2 separate regions of the Homo sapiens genome follow, and region 1 is linked to region 2. The links are contacts of gene promoters, found by promoter capture Hi-C in blood cells and fetal thymus (Javierre and others, 2016). All regions are on one chromosome and are shown on one strand. The core of a region is centred on a gene start or on the middle of the fragment in contact, and the rest is flanking DNA. Distances in the headings are between cores, read along the strand shown.

Region 1 (4,304 bases), core at 1,353-3,852, 190 kb after region 2:
TTATTTTTCTCTTTTTAAAACTTTTTTATTTATATATATTTTTTGAGACAGGGTCTTGCTCTGTTGCCCAGGCTGGGGTGCAGTGGCGCAATCATGGCTCACTGCAGCCTCAACCTCCTGGGCTCAAGCCATCCTCCCGCCTCAGCCTCCTGAGCAGCTGGGACTACAGGCACACACCACCATGCCCAGCTAAATTTCATATTTTTGGTAGAGAAAGGGTTTCGCTGTGTTGCCCAGGCTGGTCTCAAACTCCTGGGCTCAAGTGATCTGCCCGCCTCGGCCTCCCAAAGTGCTGGGACTACAGATGTGAGTTACTGTACCCAGCCGGCCAGGCACATTTCTGTCTCAGGGCCTTTGCACTGGCTGTTCCTCTGCCTGGAATGCTCTTCCCCCAGATGTCTGCCCACTTGGCTCCTTCCCCACCTCCTTCAGATCAAATGTTGCCCTCTCAGTGAGATCCCCCTGAAAATTGAAACTGCTCTCTCACCGTCCCTGCGTTTTCTACTCACAAATCGCTATTTAACCAACTCATTTATCGTGATTTTTGTCCAACTCTCTGGTTAGGATGTCAGCTCTGTGAGGGCCGAGATCTCTGTCTCATTCACAGCTGTCTCTCCAGCACTGAGAACAGAGCCTGGCACATGGTAGATGCTCAATAAATTATGATTCAATAAATAAAAGAAGGGAAAGAAAGGAAGGAAAGAGGGAAGGAACTGGCAAGTCTGTGGCTCTTGCGGTTTGTCATCTGTCCTAGCTAGGAGGCAAGAGTGTTAACACGTCTCCTCTTCCCGAATAAGATGGTGCCAGGCTGGGAAACTGAGGCATGAAGGGACTCTTCATAGCAGTCCTGGAGCAGTGAAGAAGGAGCCAGGCTTCAGACCAACTCTCAGTGCCGGGCTCAGAAGAAAAAGCCCCTGACGCCACCTGCTGGTGAGTAGTGTCATGACGGTTGTGCCCACCTGGCGATGCCCTTGCCAGGTGGGCAGGAGAGGAGGAAGCCCAGCGGCATCCCCCGCAGATGTGCAGAATCCATGGAGCCAGAGCTTAAGCCTCTTCATTCCTGAAGCCCCGTGGGCACCTCGCCCGATCAGAGCTATGCAGGAGGGTGGGGCCCTGCCAGCAGAAACCTGCCGTGTGTCACTCTGTGCCCGCACACCTGCCCTCCCTCCACAGCCAGCCAGGACTCCCACCTCTCCAGGAGGGAACAGCTGCCCCAGCTCCATAGGGCTGCATGTACCCTACATGGGGCCTCTGGAGGGCAGGGGAGTCAGGGCCCACCCAACTCCCCACCCAGGCCTGGGCAGTTTCTGGTCACAGCAGCCAAGGCGGCAAAACCTAGGCTTCTGGAGGAGAGCTGCCGCCATCCCTAGAGGTACATCCTCCGGCCAAACAGGGGTCTCACCACCCAGACATCATCTACGATCTTCCCATCCTGTGAGGGACAAAAACAGGGACAGTAGTTAGAGCTGAAAGCCTGAACTCTGGGGCCACATGGCCTGGGTTCCAGTCCCCTCTCTGCCCTCTGATGGGCTGTACAACCCTGAGCAAGTGGCTAGGCCTCTCTGGGCCTCAGTTTTCCTCATCTGAAAAGTGATAGGAAGAGTAACAGTACCCACATCATAGATGTTGTGGGAGTTAAATGAGATAGTATTTGTAAACAGAGCCCAGCATATGGAAAGGGCTATGTAAGTGTAGGCTATTATTAGAGCACAAACTCTGGAGTCAGACAGACCTTGCTTTATATTCCAGCACATCCACTCTTTCTCTCTCTCTCCTTTTTTTTTTTTTTTTTTTTTTTTAGACAGAGTCTTGCTCTGTCACCCAGGCTGGAGTGCAGTGGCAACCTCCGCTTCCCAGGTTCAAGCCATTCTCCTGCCCCAGCCTCCCAAGTAGCTGGGATTACAGGCATGCACCACCATGCCTGGCTAATTTTTGTATTTTTACTAGAGACAAGGTTTCACCATGTTGGCCAGGCTGGTCTCGAACTCCTGACCTCAAGTGATCCGCCTGCCTCAGCCTCCCAAAGGCATGAGCTGCTGCACCTGGCCAGCGCATCCACCCTCTAGGTGGCCTTAAGCATGTTGCTGGACTCTCTGAGCAAAACTTCCATGTTCTATGCAATGCACAAAGTAATAGATGCCCAGAGTCATCATGAGAACAGAGTGAGATCATGCACACAAAAGTCTGCGCCCGGTGCATGTGCCACTCGATAAATGGTAGCTATCAGATCCCAGCTTGGCCGTCCTCCAACTGTGTGACCCTGGGAAAATTACTTCCCCTCTCTGAGCCTCAGTTCCCTCACCTATAAAATGGAGAGGAAATCCACTCCTGTGGGATTGTTTTGGTGTATAAAGTGCTACTGGGGCCGCATGCGGTGGCTCATGCCTGTAATCCCAGCACTTTGGGAGGCCCAGGTGGGTGGATCACCTGAGGTCAGGAGTTCAAGACCAGCCTGGCTAACATGGTGAAACCCCATCTCTACTAAAAATACAAAAAATTAGCCGGGTGTGGTGGCATGTGCCTGTAATCCCAGCTACTCGGGAGGCTGAGGCAGGAGAATTGCTTGAACCTGGGAGGTGGAGGTTGCAGTGAGCTTAGATTGCACCACTGCACTCTAGCCTGGGCGACAGGGTGAAACTCTGTCTCAAAAACAAATAAATAAATAAAGTGCTACTAAATGCAGAGCATCTAGGCAGTGCCTGGTATGCAGTAGGTGCTCAATAAATCATAAATATTGTCATTATTTTAAAACTACAATGGCAAAAATAAAGAAAGGTGAGCCATTATTATTTGGATCCACCTAACCTTAAGCCACCTGTACCACATACTCATCTTATTGTTTTCCCCTACCTGTGTCCCACCCCCCATCTTTATCTTCCCCTGCCTCACAATGGTAAATACCTACAGAATTTACCAAGTTCCGCACTCTTCTAAGCATTTTATATATAATAAGTCCTTCAACCCCCATGTAGTCCTGTGAGGTGGAAACTATGATTATCCCCTCTCACAGATGGGAAAACTGAGGCAAAGAAGTTAGATAAGTGGGCCCAGCACAGTGGCTCACACCTGTAATCCCAGCACTTTGGGAGGTTGAGGCAGGCAGATCACCTGATGTCAGGAGTTCGAGACCATTCTGGCCAACACAGTGAAACCCTGTCTCTACTAAAAATACAAAAAATTAGCCGGGTGTGGTGGTGGGCGCCTGTGATCCCAGCTACTCGGGAGGCTGAGGTAGGAGAATTGCCTGAACCTGGGAGGTGGCGGTTGCAGTAAACCAAGACTGCACCACTGCATTCCAGCCTGGGTGACAGAGCGAGACTCCATCTCAAAAAAAAAAAAAAAAAATTAGATGAGTGACTCAAGGTCACTCAGCTGGTAAGCAGCAGGAGCAGGTTTCTAGTTCTACAGTCCACATTTGTTCGTTTTTTTGTTTTGAGTTAGGGTCTCACTCTGTTGCCAAGGCTGGAGTACAGAGGCGAGATCATAGCTCACTGCAAACTCTAACTCCTGCACTCAAGTGATCCTCCTGCCTCAGCCTCCCAAGTAGCTGGGACTACAGACATCTGCCACCACACTTGACTAATTTTCCTTTTTTTTCCAAGACAGAGTCTCACTCTGTCTCCCAGGCTGGAGGGCAGTGGTGCCATCTTGGGTCACTGCAAACTTCACCTCCCAGATTTAAGTGATTCTCCTGCCTCAACCTCCCTTGTAGCTGGGATTACAGGCACCCGCCACCATGGCCAGCTCATTTTTGTATTTTTAGTAGAGACGGGGTTTCACCATGTTGGCCAGGCTGGTCTCTAACTCCTGACTTCAAGTGATCTGCCCACCTCAGCCTCCCAAAGTGCTGGGATTTCAGGTATGAACCACCGCACCTGGCCTAATTTTTTTTTTTTTTTTTTTTTTGAGACAGAGTCTTGCTCAGTCGCCCAGGCTGGAGTGGTGCGATCTCGGCTCACTGCAAGCTCTGCCTCCCGGGTTCACGCCATTCTCCTGCCTCAGCCTCCCGAGTAGCTGGGACTATAGGCACCTGCCACCACGCCTGGCTAATTTTTTTTGTATTTTTAGTAGAGAAGGGGTTTCACCATGTTAGCCAGGATGGTCTCGATCTCCTGACCTTGTGATCCGCCTGCCTCGGCTTCCCAAAGTGCTGGAATTACAGGCATGAGCCACCGTGCCTGGCCATTTTTTGTATTTTTTGTAGAGACTAGGTCTCACCATGGTACCCAGGCTGGTCTTGAACTCCTGGACTCAAGCGATCCTCATACCTTAGCCCCACCAAATTGCAGGTGTTGCAGGCATGA
Region 2 (4,002 bases), core at 976-3,475:
AAAACAATAAACTCAGCCCTATGTCTCAGTCAGGGCTGCAGCTTCATAAATAAAGGGTGAGAGGAAATAAATTAAGGAAGGAGTAGGGCTCAGCGCATAAATAAGGTGTGGGGTGTCAGGTGGACTCAGGGTGGGTTGACGTTCTCAGACACAGGTTCCCATCGGCCACATATTTGAGGTCTCGCGTGAGGAGGCGGAAGAGGTTGAAGGTGACAGATGCCTCCAGGCAGCCAGCGGACTCCTGTAGGGGAGGAGGGGATGGGTCAGGGGCTGTCCAGGGTCTGGGCTCCTATTGGCTCCCCAGACCCTGGTCCTTCTCTTCCTGGGTCACTCACCTTTTTGGGGGCCTCCTGGAGCCGGTGCAGCCAGTGGTGGAGGCGGCCCCGGGGCCTGGGCCCTGCTGTGGGCTGAGGCTGGATCTGTGGGCAGAAGAGGGCGGTGTGTGAGGCGGAGCCTGGGCCACCACAGGGGAAGGATGCTGCTCAGAGCCCACAGACCTGGGTGCCCGGGCCCCAAGGACTCACACAGGCCTGGAGCTGGGAGAGGATGTGGTGCAGGGTGTGAAGGGGCTGGTCTAGGACGTCCTCCAGGGCTGGGCCAGCAGCGGCCTCCAGGACCTTCAGCGTCAGGGCCAGCTCAGCCTCCAAGGCCACAGGGCGCTCCCTCACCTGAGGAGAGGTGAGAAAGAGCAGGTGAGGGAGAACAGGCAAGAAGACCCAGTTAGTGGGGACAGGTAGGCAGTCCTGGGGAAGGTCGGTGACACAGTGCATGTGGTGGGGACAGGTGAGGGGTCTGGGGAGAAGGAGACAGGAGGGGGAAGACATGAGGAAGGATACAGGTGAGGCAGGATGGTCAAGGAGGCAGGTGAGGGGATAAGTGAAATGGAGACAAATGAAAGGGGACTTACGGGGGTCACAGAAGTTCTCTGGGGCGGGGTGGGGACGGGTGAGGAGAAAGCAGGTTGGGGGCACAGTAAGAGAGGGACAGTTGCATGCACAGAGAAGAAGGGTAGGGCTGGGTGTGGTGGCTCACGCCTGTAATCCCAGCACTTTGGGAGGCCGAGGCGGGTGGATCACCTGAGGTCAGGATTTCGAGACCAAGCCTGGCCAACATAGTGAAACCCCGTCTCTGCTAAAAATACAAAAATTAGCTGGGCATCATGGCACATGCCTGTAATCCCAGCTACTCGGGAGGCTGAGGCAGGATAATTGCTTGAACCCGGGAGGCAGAGGTTGCAGTGAACCGAGATCATGCCACTGCACTCCAGCCTGGGCCATAGAGCAAGACTCTGTCTCAAAAAAAAAAAAAAAAAAAAAAAAAAGAGAAGGGTGGATGAGGGGGGAGCATGAGCTGGATGAATGTCAGTGAGAGATAATGAGGGACAGGTGACAGAGGCAGGTGAGAGGGAGAGGGGGTCAGTGTTGGGAACAGACAGGGAGAAGTGGAGCAGGACGAAAGGCACAGGTGGGCGACAGACTGGAGACATTTGGGAGAGAAATGAAGAGTGAGAGTGGAAGTGACAGGGACAGGTGAGCGAGCTAGGGAAGTGGGGCCGATGGGAGATGATAAAAGGGACCCAGGGGAAGGACAGAGTCAAGAGAGCAGTTTTGAAGTGGCAGGGGCACAGGACAGGTGAGGAGAGGTCCAAGAGAGTGAAGGACAAGGGAAACAAAGAAGGCTAAGGGGCCACTTAAGAAGAGGGGGGAGAGGGTCAAGGGAAGGGTGAAGGGGGCCTGACTTTCAGCTCACCTGGAGAAGCCTCAGGTCCCAATTCCCGGGGAAGACAGGAGAGCTGCAACTCCAGTTTTTCAGCTTGAGTGACTCTTCCTAGAGAGCAAGGGCAGGGGTTAGCCCACAGCAGGATGGCTGGAAGCTAGCTCATAGCAGCAAGGATGAAGTTGGCCTGACAGCATGGGTTTAACCCAGTGCAGAAAGGATAGAGGTTTGCCATAGTTGGAAGGCTAGAGGCTAGCCCACAGTAGAAGGGCAGTAATTGGGACACCCGTAGAAGTGGTTCATCCACAGCAACAGGAACTCACCAAGGCGTCCCTGGCCTTCTTGAAGCTCGCTAGCTCCTGTGGTGACAGAGATTTGAACCTGCCAATGTGGCAGCCCTTCCCAGTTGTGGTGGGCTTGGAAGTGGGGACAGGGCCTGCCACGGCCAAGCCTAGCACCAAAGTCACCAGCACCACGGTCCAAGCTGCAGCCATGGCTAAATCGCAACTGCTTCCCCAGCGGCATGGCTCTGCTTTTTAGCCACGCAAAATGGGCAATCCAAGATGATGTGTGTAAAGTGAAAAGGTAATTGGAAATGAGAATTTCCACTTTGACTTAAGAGGCATGAGTGGGCGGGGCCCGTCTGGGAGCCTGATGAGGGAACAGGTGTGGGCAGGGCCAAGTGAGCTGGGAGCTGCATCAAGAAGGAAAGAGAAACTGAAATCCTTAGAACTCCCTGGGCAGCTTTCAGCCAACTGGCCTCAGGGAGTCCCTGACGGAGGCTGAGATTAGGGATAAGGCTACCTGAGTGGCAGAGAGGAAGCTTCTTTTTTATTCTAAATTAGCCAGGTGTGGTGGCATGCGCCTGTGGTCTCAGCTACTCAGGAGGCCGAGGCATGAGAATCACTTGAACCCGGGAGGCGGAGGTTGCAGTGAGCCAAGATCGTGCCACTGCACTCCAGCCTGGGTGATGGAGTGAGATCCTGTTTCAAAAAAAAAAAAGCTTGTTTTTTATTTTATTGTTATTATTATTTTTTGAGACGTAGTTTTGCTCTTGTTGCCCAGGCTGGAGTGCAATGGTGCAATCTTGGCTCACTGCAACTTCTGCCTCCCGAGTTGAAGCGATTCTCCTGCCTCAGCCTCCTAAGTAGTTGGGATTACAGGTGCATGCCATCACGCCTGGCTAGTTTTTGTATTTTTAGTAGAGACTGGGTTTTACTATGTTGGTCACGCTGGCTTCGAACTCCTGACTTCAGATGATCTGCCTGCCTTGGCCTCCCAAAGTGCTGGGATTACAGGCGTGAGCCACCACCTTACTTTATTATTTATTTATTTATTTTTGTAGAGATAGGGGTCTCACTATGTTGCCCAGGCCAGTCTTGAACTCCTGGCCTTAAGCCATCCTCCTGCTTCAGCCTCGCAAAGTGCTAGTATTAAAGGCATGAGCCACTGCTCCTGGCCAAGAAGGAGCTTCTGCCATTGGTTTAAGAATGTCCCATTAACTAATTTCAGTTCATGCTCCTAATGTTTCTCTGAGTAGTTATTTTTATAATTGTGATGGTTAATTTTAGGTGTCACCTTGACTGGTTAAGTTTATCAGATAGCTGGTGATGCGTTAATTCTGGGTATGACTCTGGGGTGTTTCCAGAAGAGATTGGCATTTGAATCAATGGACTGAGTAAGGAAGACCCGTTGTTACCCAATGTGGTGGGCACCATCCAATTGGCCGAGGGCCTGAATAGAACAAAAAGGCAGAGGAAAGGAGAATTTGCTCTCTCTTATGAGCTGGGACACCCTGCACCTGCCCTTAAACATCAGAACTCCAGGCTCTTTGGTCTTTGAATGCTGGGATGTGCAGCTGGGCATGGTGGCTCACGCCTGTAATCCCAGCAGTTTGGGAGGCTGAGGCAGGTGAATCACTTGAGGTCAGGAGTTCGAGACCAGCCTGGCCAACATGGTGAAACCCCATCTCTACTAAAAATATAAAAATCAGCCAGGCGTGGTGGCACAGGCCTGTAGTCCCAGCTACTTGGGAGGCTGAGGCAGGAGTATCGCTTGAACCCTGGAGGCGGAGGCTGCAGTGAGCTGAGATCATGTCACTGCACTCCAGCCTGGTCAACAGAGTGAGACTCCATCTCAGAAAAAAAAAAAATGCTGGGACTTGCACTAGCTACCCCCTAAGTCCTGAGGCTTTTATTCTGGAACTGAGCTGCACTACAAGCTTCCCTGGTTCTCCAGCTTGCAGATGGCCTGTTGTGGAACTTCTTAGCCTCCCTAATTGTCTGA

What was found. The method cuts DNA at HindIII sites, captures the fragments that hold promoters and counts their contacts. A CHiCAGO score of 5 or more calls a contact.
Region 1: a contact is called between a fragment that was not itself captured here and the fragment with the promoter of IFNL1 in region 2, in 1 of 17 cell types (endothelial precursors). The highest score is 5.8, in endothelial precursors.

The regions. Positions count from the first base shown.
Region 1 is chr19:39,107,181-39,111,484 of GRCh38, reverse strand. ACP7 (acid phosphatase 7, tartrate resistant (putative)) reads right to left here. Exons shown (of 13, transcript NM_001004318.3): 13 at 1-1,432. The coding sequence ends at 1,367. Among named protein-coding and RNA genes, the nearest start is that of PAK4, 16 kb to the left of the region's middle. RefSeq lists an enhancer at 982-1,051. The HindIII fragment of the contact is 5,363 bases long and covers 1-4,304 here.
Region 2 is chr19:39,294,630-39,298,631 of GRCh38, reverse strand. It overlaps IFNL1 (interferon lambda 1), which reads right to left and starts at 2,225. Exons shown (of 5, transcript NM_172140.2): 1 at 2,040-2,225; 2 at 1,750-1,827; 3 at 525-668; 4 at 336-419; 5 at 1-241. The coding sequence starts at 2,210. The coding sequence ends at 116. The HindIII fragment of the contact is 6,887 bases long and covers 1-2,541 here.